2 separate regions of the Homo sapiens genome follow, and region 2 is linked to region 1. The links are contacts of gene promoters, found by promoter capture Hi-C in blood cells and fetal thymus (Javierre and others, 2016). All regions are on one chromosome and are shown on one strand. The core of a region is centred on a gene start or on the middle of the fragment in contact, and the rest is flanking DNA. Distances in the headings are between cores, read along the strand shown. Region 1 holds the start of LINC02881 (long intergenic non-protein coding RNA 2881). Region 2 holds the start of LINC00840 (long intergenic non-protein coding RNA 840).

Region 1 (6,933 bases), core at 549-3,048:
ACTTGAATAATTCGCTAGAGCAGCTCACAGAGCTCAGGGAAAGGCCTACTTACATTTACTATAAAGGATGTTACAGAGGAGAGAGACACAGAGATGCCTGGGGCAAGACATATGAGGAGGGCGAGAAGCTTCCATGCCCTCCTGGGGCTGTCGAACTAAAACGAAGAAGCTGAAAGTTTTGCTCCAAATGCCATTGTTTATCCATTTTTGACCACCTGATCTGTTCCATTAGCTTCAAAAGATGCCTTTTCATTTGTTTCGTTTTGCCTTCGATGGCCTTCCGCCTGCCGCAAGCAACCCTCTAGAATATGGGCCTGTGCTTGGCTTTTCTACACAAACATGAGCAGCCTTCAATTACTGGGGGACATTCATTTCCTCCTTCCAACTAGAGAGCGAGGAGTGTCCCGGGGAGAGTGGGTCCTTGAGCTCCTCTGGGCCTTGCTTGGGACTTGGTCCAGGAGGTTATGGGAAGAAACTGGTTTAGAAGCTGACCTCATGGGTTCGCTATTCTTATGTAACACTTAGGAAGAGCAGAGACCCACGCGATTCAGTCCCAGAGCAATGTTGCGGTCAAGAGAACACAGTCCAGCTACCAACAGTTATTTCAAAATAATTCAAGCTCTTTGTTTATATTTCTGAAAGAAAGAAAGAAAAAAAAAGGGTGGCCCAGCTGGAAACTCGGCTTTAAGTCCCCTTTCAGGGGGCCCTCAGGTGGGCACCTGCTTGGAAACCTCTCCACCCCTCCAAACACCCTTTTCCTCTCTGAGTGTTCATTTGTTGATCCAGATTCTGAATAAATGAAGCCGTACAGAATCCACCTGGCAAAAATGGAAACTGCCTGGAGGCCAGGGCTGAGGGAAGGCCTGGAGCAGAGCCGGTGCGCGACCTCGCAGTGAGCAGGGAGGGCAGGCTGGGGACGTTCACCACCCAGAACGCCTCTGCTCCCCGCAACCCTGAGACTCCAGGCTCCCCTGTTCCTCCCTCCGGGAGACCCTGCCCGTCCTCCCCGCGGGGCTCCTTCGCAGTTCGGGGGAAGGGACGGGTTGCGTCCTCGGGACCTTTCTCTGCAGCCACAGCAGCGCATCCCAGCACCTCCTCCAGGAGCCCCGCCACCTCCTGCCACCCGGACTTTCCCCACAGCGCAGCGTCCCCTCGTCCTCTCAGGGCTGGAACAGCGGTACCCGCAGACAGTGCAAAAGGGAAGTCCCTGTTGCCTTCCCATGCAAACTGTAGGGCGCTTACAGCTGCTGGGAGAGGAAAGGAAAGAAGAAATACAGTGAGTGTGATATGGGTACAAAGAAACCAACACGGAGCTTCCGTGGGCCTAGAAAGGAGCCCCCAGGAGAAGTACACTGGGCCTGCGTCATCGCCTGCCTTCAGCGGGCTCCATCCTTCCCCAGGCCCCCCTCCCCACCCACCTCCCACCCGCGGTCCTCCCGAGGCCCCCCTCCCCGCCCCCCCTTCTCGCTTCCCCATCCCCCTCCCACCCGCGGCCCTCCCGAAGCCCCCCTCCCCACCTCCCCACCTCCATTCTTCGCCTCCCCAACCCCGCTCCGAGTCTCCCCGCCTCCCTATCCCGCCTCCCACCCGCGGCCCTCCCGACGCCCCCTTCACCTCCCCACTCCCGAGGCCCTCCTGAGGCCCCTGGGCTCCCGCTCCTCCGAGTTGCCTGCGGCCGAGTCCTGGCGCGGCCTGGGACTGCCTGTTGGGGGGAGGGGGTGGGGGGGGGTCGTTCCCAAAGAAGGGGAAGGAGGCCTTTCGTGAGCATCTGAGGAGTACATCCTCATTTTGTCTTCTCACTCTGTCCACCCAGAGCCTGTGACCCGGATCCAACCCGCGGCGCACAGACCCCGGCTCTGGGCACCCCTGGTGAGCGCCTTCTGCGCCAGAGCTCCGTACAGCACCAGCCCGCGCTCTCCCCCAGCTTCTGTTCATTTGCTGCAGTCCTGACGGGTCAGTTGCCTGAGCATCCATGCTGCCATCCATACAAACCCAGGCACGCAGAGATGTACATCCTTTACCCAGGGTGACACCATGTGGAGCTGAATCCAAGTCCGGGAGTCTGATGACCGTGTCTGGGCTCTGACCGCGCAGCCGTCTCACAGTGAAACAAATTGCGGACTGGCCTTGTCCTGAGTGGCCTTAGGAAGCTGCAGTGGCCTGCAGTCTCCTGGCCAGTCTGTAGAATTTGGCAAAGATGAGGCACCTTATAGCCTTACATGTTCTTATTTTTCTTTCCTTTTCTCTTCTTTATTTTCTTTTTTAAGGATTTGAATTAGTATATGTAAAGTGCTTAACGCAGGAGCTGGCAGAGAAAGTGGATACTCAGTAAATAACAGCAATTGTTAATTGTAAAAAGCATGCCACTTATCTGGTAAAATCCCCCATTCTAAGCACCCTGTTAAGTAGTTGGTAATTCCTCACTTGAAAGAAATTAAAAAGAATTTTTGTCAGTTTTTTAAAATATTGTTTTATTGTGATAAAATATTCATAACATAAATTTCACTCTTTTAATACTTTTTAAGTGTACAATGCAGATTAATAAGAGAAATGCATACAAATTTATTAACGTGTACACGGGAAAAATAAGGTGATTACCCAATATCCCATGAGGTCCAGATACTTATACAGCGTTTTTTCAGAGAGGAGGGTGGAAGGCGGAATGTAGGTGATTCTGTTGAGGGGCAATAAATTATTATTAAGGAGAATGAATGGGTCAAGAAACAGAGAGTTATTCGTAAATGGTTCTCTTTGAAAATTTAATAAGCTGGAGAAATGGATTATTTTTTTGAAAGCGTCTGTTCAGGTGTGGTCACGTGTTGGTTTTCTTTTCTGCAATAGATAATGAGATAAGAGGGAGGAGAAGGAAAAGTAATTGTTCTCTTTGGTGGGTCTGCAGGGTCTTCATGTAGATAAGGGAGAGGACTCTTCCAGCTTCTGTTGATCTTGAGGGACTTTAATTGAAAATACTCATACCAGGGAGCCATATTTTGGGGCCAAGTTCCCTGCGCTCCTTCAATCCTCCTGTTTGGAACTTCCCTAGAATTTCACATTATCAACAGCTGAATCAGTGATTATGGAGAGATTTGGGTTAGAGGAAAAGAAGGCAAAGAAGGGGAAAAAACAAATTGGGATAAGCAGAAAAGAAAAATAAATAAATATGTTGTCCCATATCTTCTTGAATCAGTCTCTTAGTCCTAAGAGTAGAAGCATTTGGTCAAACAGCTGTGTCCATTCTAGGAGGTGGCACTACAGAGGGGCTGGGCTTCTACAGCTGATGCAGGCAAGCTGGTCTTTAATAAGAGGCATTTCTATGGAAACAAAGAAAAACAAAGGTTTTTCTTAATGTCTGGAATAGTCCATAATAAACTAGTTTTTCTAGAGTCTCAGAAGTATCTTCAGATTGTAGTGGTAATCTTACAGATTTTCCTGGATTATAGTTTGAATTACGTGTTCATGTGAACTTCCTGAGTAGCCCATACATCAGCAGGCACAAAGGCTGTGTACATGTGAGTTGCTGTGCTGACTCCTCCTGAAGTTTATATCAAGTTGTCTAACTTTAGTTTGCAGGGCTTCAAGAAAAGCAGTTTTAAATTCTAGTGATTCCAAGTGAGAAAAATGAGAGAAAAGTTCAAAAGCATTAGTTTGAAGACTTGCAGCCAAGAAAGAATTCAGGATTTAGTCCAAATTGTAGGAAAATAATAAAAACTCAAAAACAATGGGCAAGACTAGAATCTGATAACAGGCATACTGTACTTGTCTTCTGAAATGCAATTTTTCTCTCCCGTTTCCCCGTTTTTACCAAGGATAAATCATAATTATGCTTGACAACATATATCATGATATATCAAAATAATAACATATTCAGAAAAATATGACTAAAAAATTAAACTCCATTATTTATTTGAGATTTGACAATGCTTCCCATATGATTTTAACATACCAAATAAGCTAAATATATCTTTCTTAGATTTCTAGAGGTTACTTTTGGAAAAGATTTAATTTTAGAAACTGAAATTTGACTTTGGGTAGTATATCAAATATTAAAGGTTTAAAACACTTGATCAAATTAGGATCACAGTTCACTGTAAATAATAGTCATTCATTTAACCAAAGCAATAATTCAAAAATTTCAAACAACCTTTACTCTTTGAGAGAGAAGACTCAGTTATCTAAATAATCAAAAGACCTAATAAAGATCTTTTTTTGCAGTTTACTCAAAAGTTGAACAAAAGCCTTTTACTATCCTTATTAATACTACATTAAAATCTTGTTCAAAAGAGGAAAGCATATTCTACATTTGTGTCAGTATATTATTAATGCTAAAGCTAAGTTTAATAAAGACTTATAAATAAATCCATCCAGTCTGAATCAGTTTTGACCATGCAAGATAAGCTTTCCATAAACCTCTTATAATCTTTTATAATTTTCTGTTAAAATTATAGGGAAAACCCTATTGTTCAAACATAGGAGCCAGGACTCTGGCCTTGCATTAGTGTGCTTTTCATATTAATGCTCAATCTTTAGAAAAACTTGAAATAATTCTCGTATAATTTTAGCCAACTTGCTCACACACAAAATTCTTTTCGCAAGATTCATCTTTCACAAACCTACAACTTACTTAAACCTCCAGTTTTGTCTTATACTTTCTCTTTTTGCATTGGGATTCTATAAAAATGTGATTTTCTCTCTTCTTTATTGTTTTGACCACAAAGTCCTCAGTCATGTAAAAGAAAAAAATCACTTTCTCTTTTCAACTTTCTTTGCATCTTACTTCCTTTATATGCTCTATAATAGAGGTTTTTCCTATAGCAAGTAGTTTTAATTATACATATTAGCTATAACATTGACTCTTAGTGCTGCAGGTAGTTAGACAGGCATGAGTGGGGCAGGAAAGGGCTCCCCACCCACTAGGAACATTAGGTGCTGGTTTGGCAATTATCACATTGTCTCTCTAAAAGTGATAAATAAAATAAATAAAACAAAAGTGATAAAAAAGCACCAGAGAGAGGCCATTTCCTGATGGTCAAGTCTGTTTCACTAAAATGTTATTTAACTGAATGCAGGCGCCAGGGAGAAGCAAATTCCTGGACATCTACGTTAAGAGACAAAATGGTGAAGTATGACCTTCTGGGGCCACACCACTGGAAAAGGGAGGAAAGTCTCAGATGGGAATGCATACAACTTCCTGAACACACTGCGCATGCTCACTTCCCAAGGGTAAGGAGGGCACTGCGTATGTGGGCAGCTCCCCCTAAGGGAAGGATCATGGCAAAGAGGCCAGCCTATAAAGTCTTAGAGTCAAGGTTAAACACCACTCTTGACCTTTGGTGCCCACTTGGGTCTCTTCCAAGTGAACCTTCTTTTCTCTCCTGTTCTAACGCCTGTCTAAATAATCTTCCACTCCTGCTCTGAAACTTGCCTCAGTCTCTTTCTGCTATATGCCCCTTAGTTGAATTATTTCTTCTGAGGAGGCAAAAACTGAGATTGCTGCAGATCTGTATGGATTCACCACTGGTAACTTGGATACCTTCCACCGGTAACATTAGTAACCCTAATTTCCAGTGAAAAACCTAAAAAGTAAATTTTGAACTCTTATACCAGTACTTGTAGATGAAAACTATTTCATAACTTTTCCTTATTAACAGATCTAAATATATTTAGTTTTTCTATATCATATAAATGACTCAAGTATTTTATAATTACCTATTAATTTAACATAATATGACTTTAAGATTAAGTTTCTGAAAAAGATTTTTGAAATTATGAAAATTTTGTTTATAAACTTTTATTCCGTTTATATTTATTTAATGTATTCATTCTTAACAATTATGCTTGACTAGTTCGTTAAACAAAGTCAGGCATCATCTCGAGTTATTTCTTTGTTAATCACTTCTGTAACTCATAATGTTAGGCAGTTATCATGTGAAAAAGAGCTCTAAAGTTAAACACATGTTTATTTTGCTGATCAGAAGACACAGCTGTTTTCATTAAACCAATAATGTTAAACGAGTTATTTACTAATGTTTTCCAAGTCATGTGAACTAAAGGCATTTGAGTTAATTTCTATTTTTCTGCTAAAATATTTTATTTAAGCAGTTCCTTTTTCCTTAAGCCAATGAAATAGATATTTTATATATTTTGATAGTGAAATATCACATAAACATGACACATATAAACATACAGACATTCAGACACATGGATAAAAACAGGCTGTATAGCTTTATACAGTTTTTTATTTGCCAGTTTTTAAATAATTTTCTTCCCTCTTTAAACTATTAATCTCTTGATTACCTGTTCCATTGCTCTAGACAGTTGTTACTTAAGCAACCCTAAATTTACACCTTCAAAGGGATGACTCAGGTGAAAGTTTACATCTCCAAGGCACAGAACTTAGATCTAAACACCATTATTTGCTGAAACAAAAAGGACATGGATAAAGGCCCACTCAAAACAAGATTGTCAGGAAAAGTATCCTAAACAAAGGTACGATTTGGTGTATAAACGTTAAGCCAATGTCTTTCTTATTGTAAAAGTTTCTAACGGCTCCTGTGCAGGGAGGTGCCCTTATAAATGGAGATTTCCTTAAAGATATACATTTCTTCTATAAAGAGTGTCAAACTAGCCAGCTAAATGCCAGCAATCTAGTTAGATGGGGGTCTTTCAACTTAGTTTATTTCTTGATTAGGTTACTGACTCAGAGTGGATCCCTTTAATGAATAGGGCAAAGAAAGTATTTGCAGTTTCCCTGGCCTAATATTTGAAATGTAAAAAGCAGCACAACTGGAAGGCAGTGCATCTAGATCTTTAAAAATCAAGGACCCCACTTCTATATGGAGCTGTAGGACCCTCAAAAAAGGGAAGCACCACAGGACCAGGCTGTGCAATGTTTCCGCAGTACTCCTTGGTACAGACATTCCCCTGAGCCTGGTG
Region 2 (6,195 bases), core at 2,642-5,141, 430 kb after region 1:
CAAAGTCTCAGCTGCAGTAAACAGCCTGGGAGCCAAAGTCCTCTGGCTCCAGTGAGCATGTTAGGCATGATTCATCTGGTGAACATTCTCTTTCTAAAGAGGGAAGGCCAGGTTAAACAAGGGTTTGCACAAAGCTCTCTTCCTGTGGCAAACAAAAGCCTGGGCTGGGCCAGCCATCAGTCCAGGCTCAGGAGAGCTCCCTAACCAAGTCCACATGTGGCTCCCATGAGACCCTCCCAGATGGGACTTGGGGAAGATCTGATGATGATGGTGATGATGGTGATATGGTGTTCTTCCAGAAATGCCTAAAATGTGCCAGCAGAGTCTTCCCTGGGAAGCAATATTGTCCTGGCAAAGCAATGGGATCAGGAGGCCTTTTAGTCTCGATCAGAATAGGGAGGAGAAGGCACCTTTGGGAATAAATGAAGCACCATGGGCCCCAAAGAGAGCCAACATGCAAATCATGGCCTGAAGATGACCCTTGAGGGAATGGAGCTCAGGACCACTGACAGGACACAGAGAGGAGGCAGCAGAGGGATGGGCAGCACTGTGATCCCGGCATCCAGGGCAGTGATGCCAAGCAGCAATGGCCCTCCTGTGCTCGGCGGTTACACGAAGGCCCAGATCAGTGCCAAGCGGGTGGTCTACTGGGCAGGCGGGGTCTGAAGGAGACATTACTTCCTGCCCGATCTTGTTAGCCAGGCTCACATATCGGACCAACCCCCATCCCACCTTAAATTGCAATCCACGTCCTTCTCAGGAAATAAGAAACCCCTCAGTCTGCACAATGCTTTCTTTGCCATGATTTGTATCACCCATGTCTTGCTCTATGATTTGGGGATTATGTTCATTGTTTGTTGGCTACACCCCCACTTCTCAGTTGGAATACGCATCAACTCCAGGAGGGCAGGGAAACTTTTTCTTGCTTCCTGATCTCCCCCTAGCACCTCGAGCAGTGCCTGGCACACAGCAGGTGTCCACAGTACTTGTCGAATGCAGAAGTGAATAAATAGCAAGACAGAGTCACCCGGCTGGCTTGGACCTGGACTGGCCAAGCTGGTGGTCTACACCATGATTTGCTGGATAATCCATGCAGCTTTCCCTGCATAGACACAGATGCAGCCCCTCTGTCCAAACATGATGCTCCCTCTGTCATTGATGGGAACCAGATGGAGTCGCGCCTGTAACATGACTGAGCACTGATTTCAGTAAAGTAAATGAATTACCAAATTGTAGTCATTATAATTTATCTTCATCTTAGTGACACACTTGACTGGCTGCTATAAACCAGGATTTGAAGAGTGAATGTGAATTTACAGACCTCTCAGCTCTGCCCACAGGATCCAAATCTGGCAGAATTGTCATCTCTATTGAACTATTACAACTGAATGGTGAGCTCTCCTACCCCCAGATTTACCGTTAATATGTGGTAACCCAACTATAGGAGCCATCTGATAATTCATCCTAGTACGTCAGATTTGGAAAGACCTTTAGGGTCATCTAAACAAATTCCATCTGCTTGAAACGAATGCCACTAAATCACAACTACCACTCTGCCAAGACTGGGCCAAAGTCCAGCTCACACAACTCACCCCACTCAAACAACAGTCCCACACACAAAATGGAGTATCCACTCCTAAAGCTGAGTCAGCCCTGAAAGGTCTGAGGGGTTGAGCAACCTAGCTCAGGCATAACAAGTGACTTTCAGAACTATTACTCAAACTGAAGAGTGTCTGACTCCAACCCATCACTCCCAACCATTATGCTCACCACTGACTCTGAATTCTGGAGAAAATTGTCAATAAAGATGTAGAGGATTGGTGACTCCTAGGTCCATGACACCTGAACTCACCAATTTTAACAACATTGAAAGCAAGAAGGCCAGACATTGTTGCTTCCTGATGTGATGAAGGTACAACAGGAAATGCACAGCATTCATATAAAGTGGCTTTGCCAAAAAAAAAAAATGTGAGTTTAATCAAGCATTGGATATAACCACCTGCAGGAAGCATGGAAGATAAATCTTCAACAAGAGGGCATTTAGCTAAATCCAGAACATAATCCACTGTACAGAAAAATGACCCATGACCAAGTTTTTTCAACAAATAAATGCATTTTTAAAAGAGAGGGAGAAGTATTACAGATTAAAAGAGACCTAAAAGACACCTCACCCAACCACAATGCGTGGACCTTGTCTGCATCCTGAATCCAGCAAAGCACCTGCAAAAGGACAATGATTTTTATATTTAGCTGAGATTCATTTATTATGACTGCAGTATACTATTCCATTCTATAGCTTTTTCCTTTTTTTATTTTTATAGATTTAGGGTGTACAAGTGCAGTTTTGTTACCTGGATAGATTTCATAGTCATGAGGCCTGGGCTTTTGGTGTAATCATCACTTGATTAGTATACATTGTAACTGTTAGGTAATTTCTCATCCCGCATTGCCCTCCCAACCTCCCCCCTTTCTGAGTCTCCAACGTCTGTTATTCCACACTCTATGTCCATGTTTACACATTATTTAGCTCCCACTTATAAATGAGAATACACAGTATTTGACTTTCAGTTTCTGGGTCGTTTCATTTGAGATAATGGCCTCCAGTTCTATACATGTTACTGCAAAAGACATGATTTCACTCTTTTTTATGGCTGGGTAGTATTCCAGGGTGTGTGTGTGTGTGTGTGTATTATACACATTATATATATAATATACACACACACCATATTTTATGTTGTAAAATATATCCATATTTTATGGTGTATATATATATATATCAATACCAATACGGTGTGTGTGTATATATATACTATATTGGTATTTATATATATATATATATATATATATATTTCTAGAATTTGCTTCAAAATACTCCAGGAAAAATAAAACACAGAGTAAAGGGGTAGATGAAGTAAGAATAGCTAAGTACTGATCATTATTGAAGCCAGGTTATGAACAAGTGAGGTTTCATTAGACTATTTGTTCTACTTCTACATATGCTTAAGATTTTCCATAACAAAGTTAAATTTAAAAAGAAGTGATGACACCCGGGAATAGAATCTTAAACCCCAAAACAACACTGTACTCTATATGGAAATGGTCACGCTCTCCCTTTGAAAAGCTTTCTCATCACGGGAGATAAAGTTACCAACTTAGAGAAACCGAAGGGTCTCAGTGAGACACTCCCCAGGAATATACCACAGAAAGCAAAAGCATAATGGCTAAGAGATAAAACCATGGAAAATTTAAGAAAAGATGTATGTTTTAAAATATTAGTGAAACATTTAAATATACATAATGAACTGGGAAAGTATAAAGTACATGTCAAAAAAATCTTAACATTATCATTACATTTAAAATATTATAAGCCTATAAGAAAAAACAGACTATTCCCTCTGAAAGGGCAAAAGATATGAGCAGACAGTTCGTGGAGGGAAAGGAAAGGTATAAAGACAGTGAATATGTATAAGGGAACAAACAAGAGGACAGGTTCACTTGTAATAAAATCAGCACATAATTAAAAAGCACATGAAGGTCTACACATTATTGACAAGATGAGCTCATTGGAGAACATCGCATAGTCCTGCCGTAGTTGAGGGGAAAATGTTCTTCCGCCACACTGCTGGTTCACACTCCCTATTTATATGTAGCAAAAGCTCATTAATGCCCTTTGTTTCAGCAGTTCTTCTTGCAACTATTTATTCATGAGAAGTAAAAATAAGCAAAGGTTTGTCTTACCTACAACAGTAAGTACAGGCAGTTTCCTTTGGCGCTGTGTAAAAATTCGTGCGCAATTCAAGATGATGAGCCCTTGGCTTGAAGTCAGAGGCCTGAACCCTGGTGCTGGCCTACTTTTAGGACTTGGTTTCTTCTTATCCTATGGGCTAAAAGTTAGCACTTAAGTCTACAGCTACTGAAAAACTAGAATAGATCTAAAAGACAAAGTGTTTATTTTTGCTAACATATATAAGTCACCTATTAAAAACCTGCTTATTCAGTAGATATCATTTTGTGCATAAGACTAAAATAATAAAAATAATGATCTTCTTCAGTCTTGAGTCTTGAATCTCAGAATCTTCCTCTGTATAGTGAACACACTGGGATAGTTTTAGATAACACATCCATTGGCTCTCAGTTCTAGTCCAAGATGAAAAGCATATCCTTGTGTGATCCAAGTCATAAAGGTAGAGCCAGTTTCCCTAAGATGTATTCTTGGAATTTTCCAGAAGATTAATTTTTCTCAAGCCTTAGATTGCTACAGGATTGACCTCATGGGCTAACATCCATAAGAGGACGTTACCAGTTGAGAACCCATGGACTTAGAGGTGAAACTGCCTGCAGCTTGCTTCTATCTGAATTTCACCTGAGGTGAACAAATCTGTGCCAGAAGGAGTTGCCCAAGTCTCCATTCTAGAGCAACAGGGCTGTTTTGAGTGCAGTTATGAAGGAGGAAAAGCAGCTCCATGCCTCCATGGAAACCCAGCCTGAAGATCTCAAGATCCTGGTCCCTGGAGAAGCAGATCCATGGCACCGAACCCCACACCGTACAGCCCATCTAAAGGTCAATGGCACCTGTGCGAGAGATATTAAGGAGGAGCAATGGTAGACAAAATCAGAGCATCTATGAGCTGACTCCAGGGGTGAATTTGAGGAAAAGCTTTGGCGTTATCCAGATTAAAATTGAAGTTAAATGCTGCAGCGTTTCCAGAAACATGAGGCACTGGTTTGTCCCCAGGACAGGAAATACTGATGTTGACTTTCATGATGGAAACAATGACTTCTGCCCACTCTCCACCCTCCTTTCTTACACTTAGAAAATCTGGCATTAAAATGAAAGGCAAACCAAAGAAGAAATGGAAGGTGACAACCAGAGAAAAGACCATGTCAGCAAAATCCCGGCTCCAAGTCCTGAGCCCTGGTAGTGAGGATGCATTCACAGGTTGACGCAGAGGGTGGTATTAGGATCTAGGAACAGATCAGGAAATATTGAGTAAAGGAAGCACCTGACCAGGAGAGCCAGGCTGCACTTGGAATCACTGGGGAAGGAGAATCTTGGTTACGTTTGCTTACCAGGATTACCCTCCTGTGGGTTAATCAATCCTAATAGGATGCTGAAGGGTTTTTTTAAATTTTCAATTCAGAGGCCCATTTTAAAAAATATGCTCACTGTTGGTTAAGGCACACAGCTGATTTTGTTAATATATATGAGGATCCATGTCTAAAGAGCTCAAAGTTATTATTAAACTCATAACTACTAAATTAACAAGCACATATATAACATAAACATCCTCAAATACACGACTGTGTCATGTTTAAAACTCTACTTGTTCTCTGAGCACCATTTTATGCAAAACTATCTAAGAAAACAGCTGCCAATTAAATTGGAATAAGATAAAGTCAACCTATGCCAATGAATGGAGCAATATTGGAACCTATTTTCCAGAACTAACTTGATGATCATTCAACAAGAGATTCTGGCAGGAAAAAAGAATATATACATACACACACACACATATACAGGTTCTTTTCAGAAAATGTCTCAAAAATGTGGTCCTCATCATGTGAACACAGTGTTCGTGTGTGTGCTGCCTGATTTGACTCCCAACTTTCTGCCATTGCATTGGTGTTTGGGGGGTTTTGTTCTCATAGTACAGAAAAGCTTTTAATTGTTAAACGTGTGCAAAATAAAATGCAAACTGCACAACTCAATTACTTTCCTTCAAACTGATGGCCATGTTTCTCAGTGTCTGTCAGTTGTTTTAACAAAAACTTTTCTCATCTGCAAAGAATTGAAATTACCCTTTCAACATATGTTTTCCAAAATCCCTGCTCTGTTTTCTCTTTGAAATTCAAAATTACTAATATACCTTACTGCAAATATAAGTGCCTTTCTCCAGAAAGCTCTAGTGGCCAAGTAGAAATGTTTCCCTTCGGATCAAGGAAATGGTATTTTGTGATTAAATTAGTTTGAGCAACACAGCTCTGGGTGTTTTATATCGCAGAGCTGTGATTTTCTAGCAGATGGCTTCGACATTTTTATACTGAGGCAAGTTTTAGTTTTCCAACCTCAGTTAAAATCTTTAAAATGTTTGCTTTAGAAGGAATTACTACACAATGGGAAAAGAACCATATGCAATACCTTATCATTTAGGAAAAATATTCCATTTTGAAACTGAGTTTCATTAAGGCCTGTTT

Evidence for each region. Contacts are between HindIII fragments. The CHiCAGO score rates a contact against its expected background, and 5 or more counts as called.
Region 2: a contact is called between a fragment that was not itself captured here and the fragment with the promoter of LINC02881 in region 1, in 2 of 17 cell types (endothelial precursors and erythroblasts). The highest score is 6.2, in endothelial precursors.

What each region holds. Positions count from the first base shown.
Region 1 is chr10:44,287,615-44,294,547 of GRCh38, reverse strand. LINC02881 (long intergenic non-protein coding RNA 2881) reads right to left here and starts at 1,798. Exons shown (of 3, transcript NR_164139.1): 1 at 1,615-1,798; 2 at 1,059-1,247; 3 at 1-635. LOC124902544 (a long non-coding RNA gene) reads left to right here. Exons shown (of 3, transcript XR_007062369.1): 3 at 1-634. The HindIII fragment of the contact is 4,267 bases long and covers 131-4,397 here.
Region 2 is chr10:43,857,904-43,864,098 of GRCh38, reverse strand. LINC00840 (long intergenic non-protein coding RNA 840) reads right to left here and starts at 4,688. Exons shown (of 5, transcript NR_038268.1): 1 at 3,739-4,688; 2 at 2,172-2,220. RefSeq lists enhancers at 98-598, 599-1,099. The HindIII fragment of the contact is 1,536 bases long and covers 3,124-4,659 here.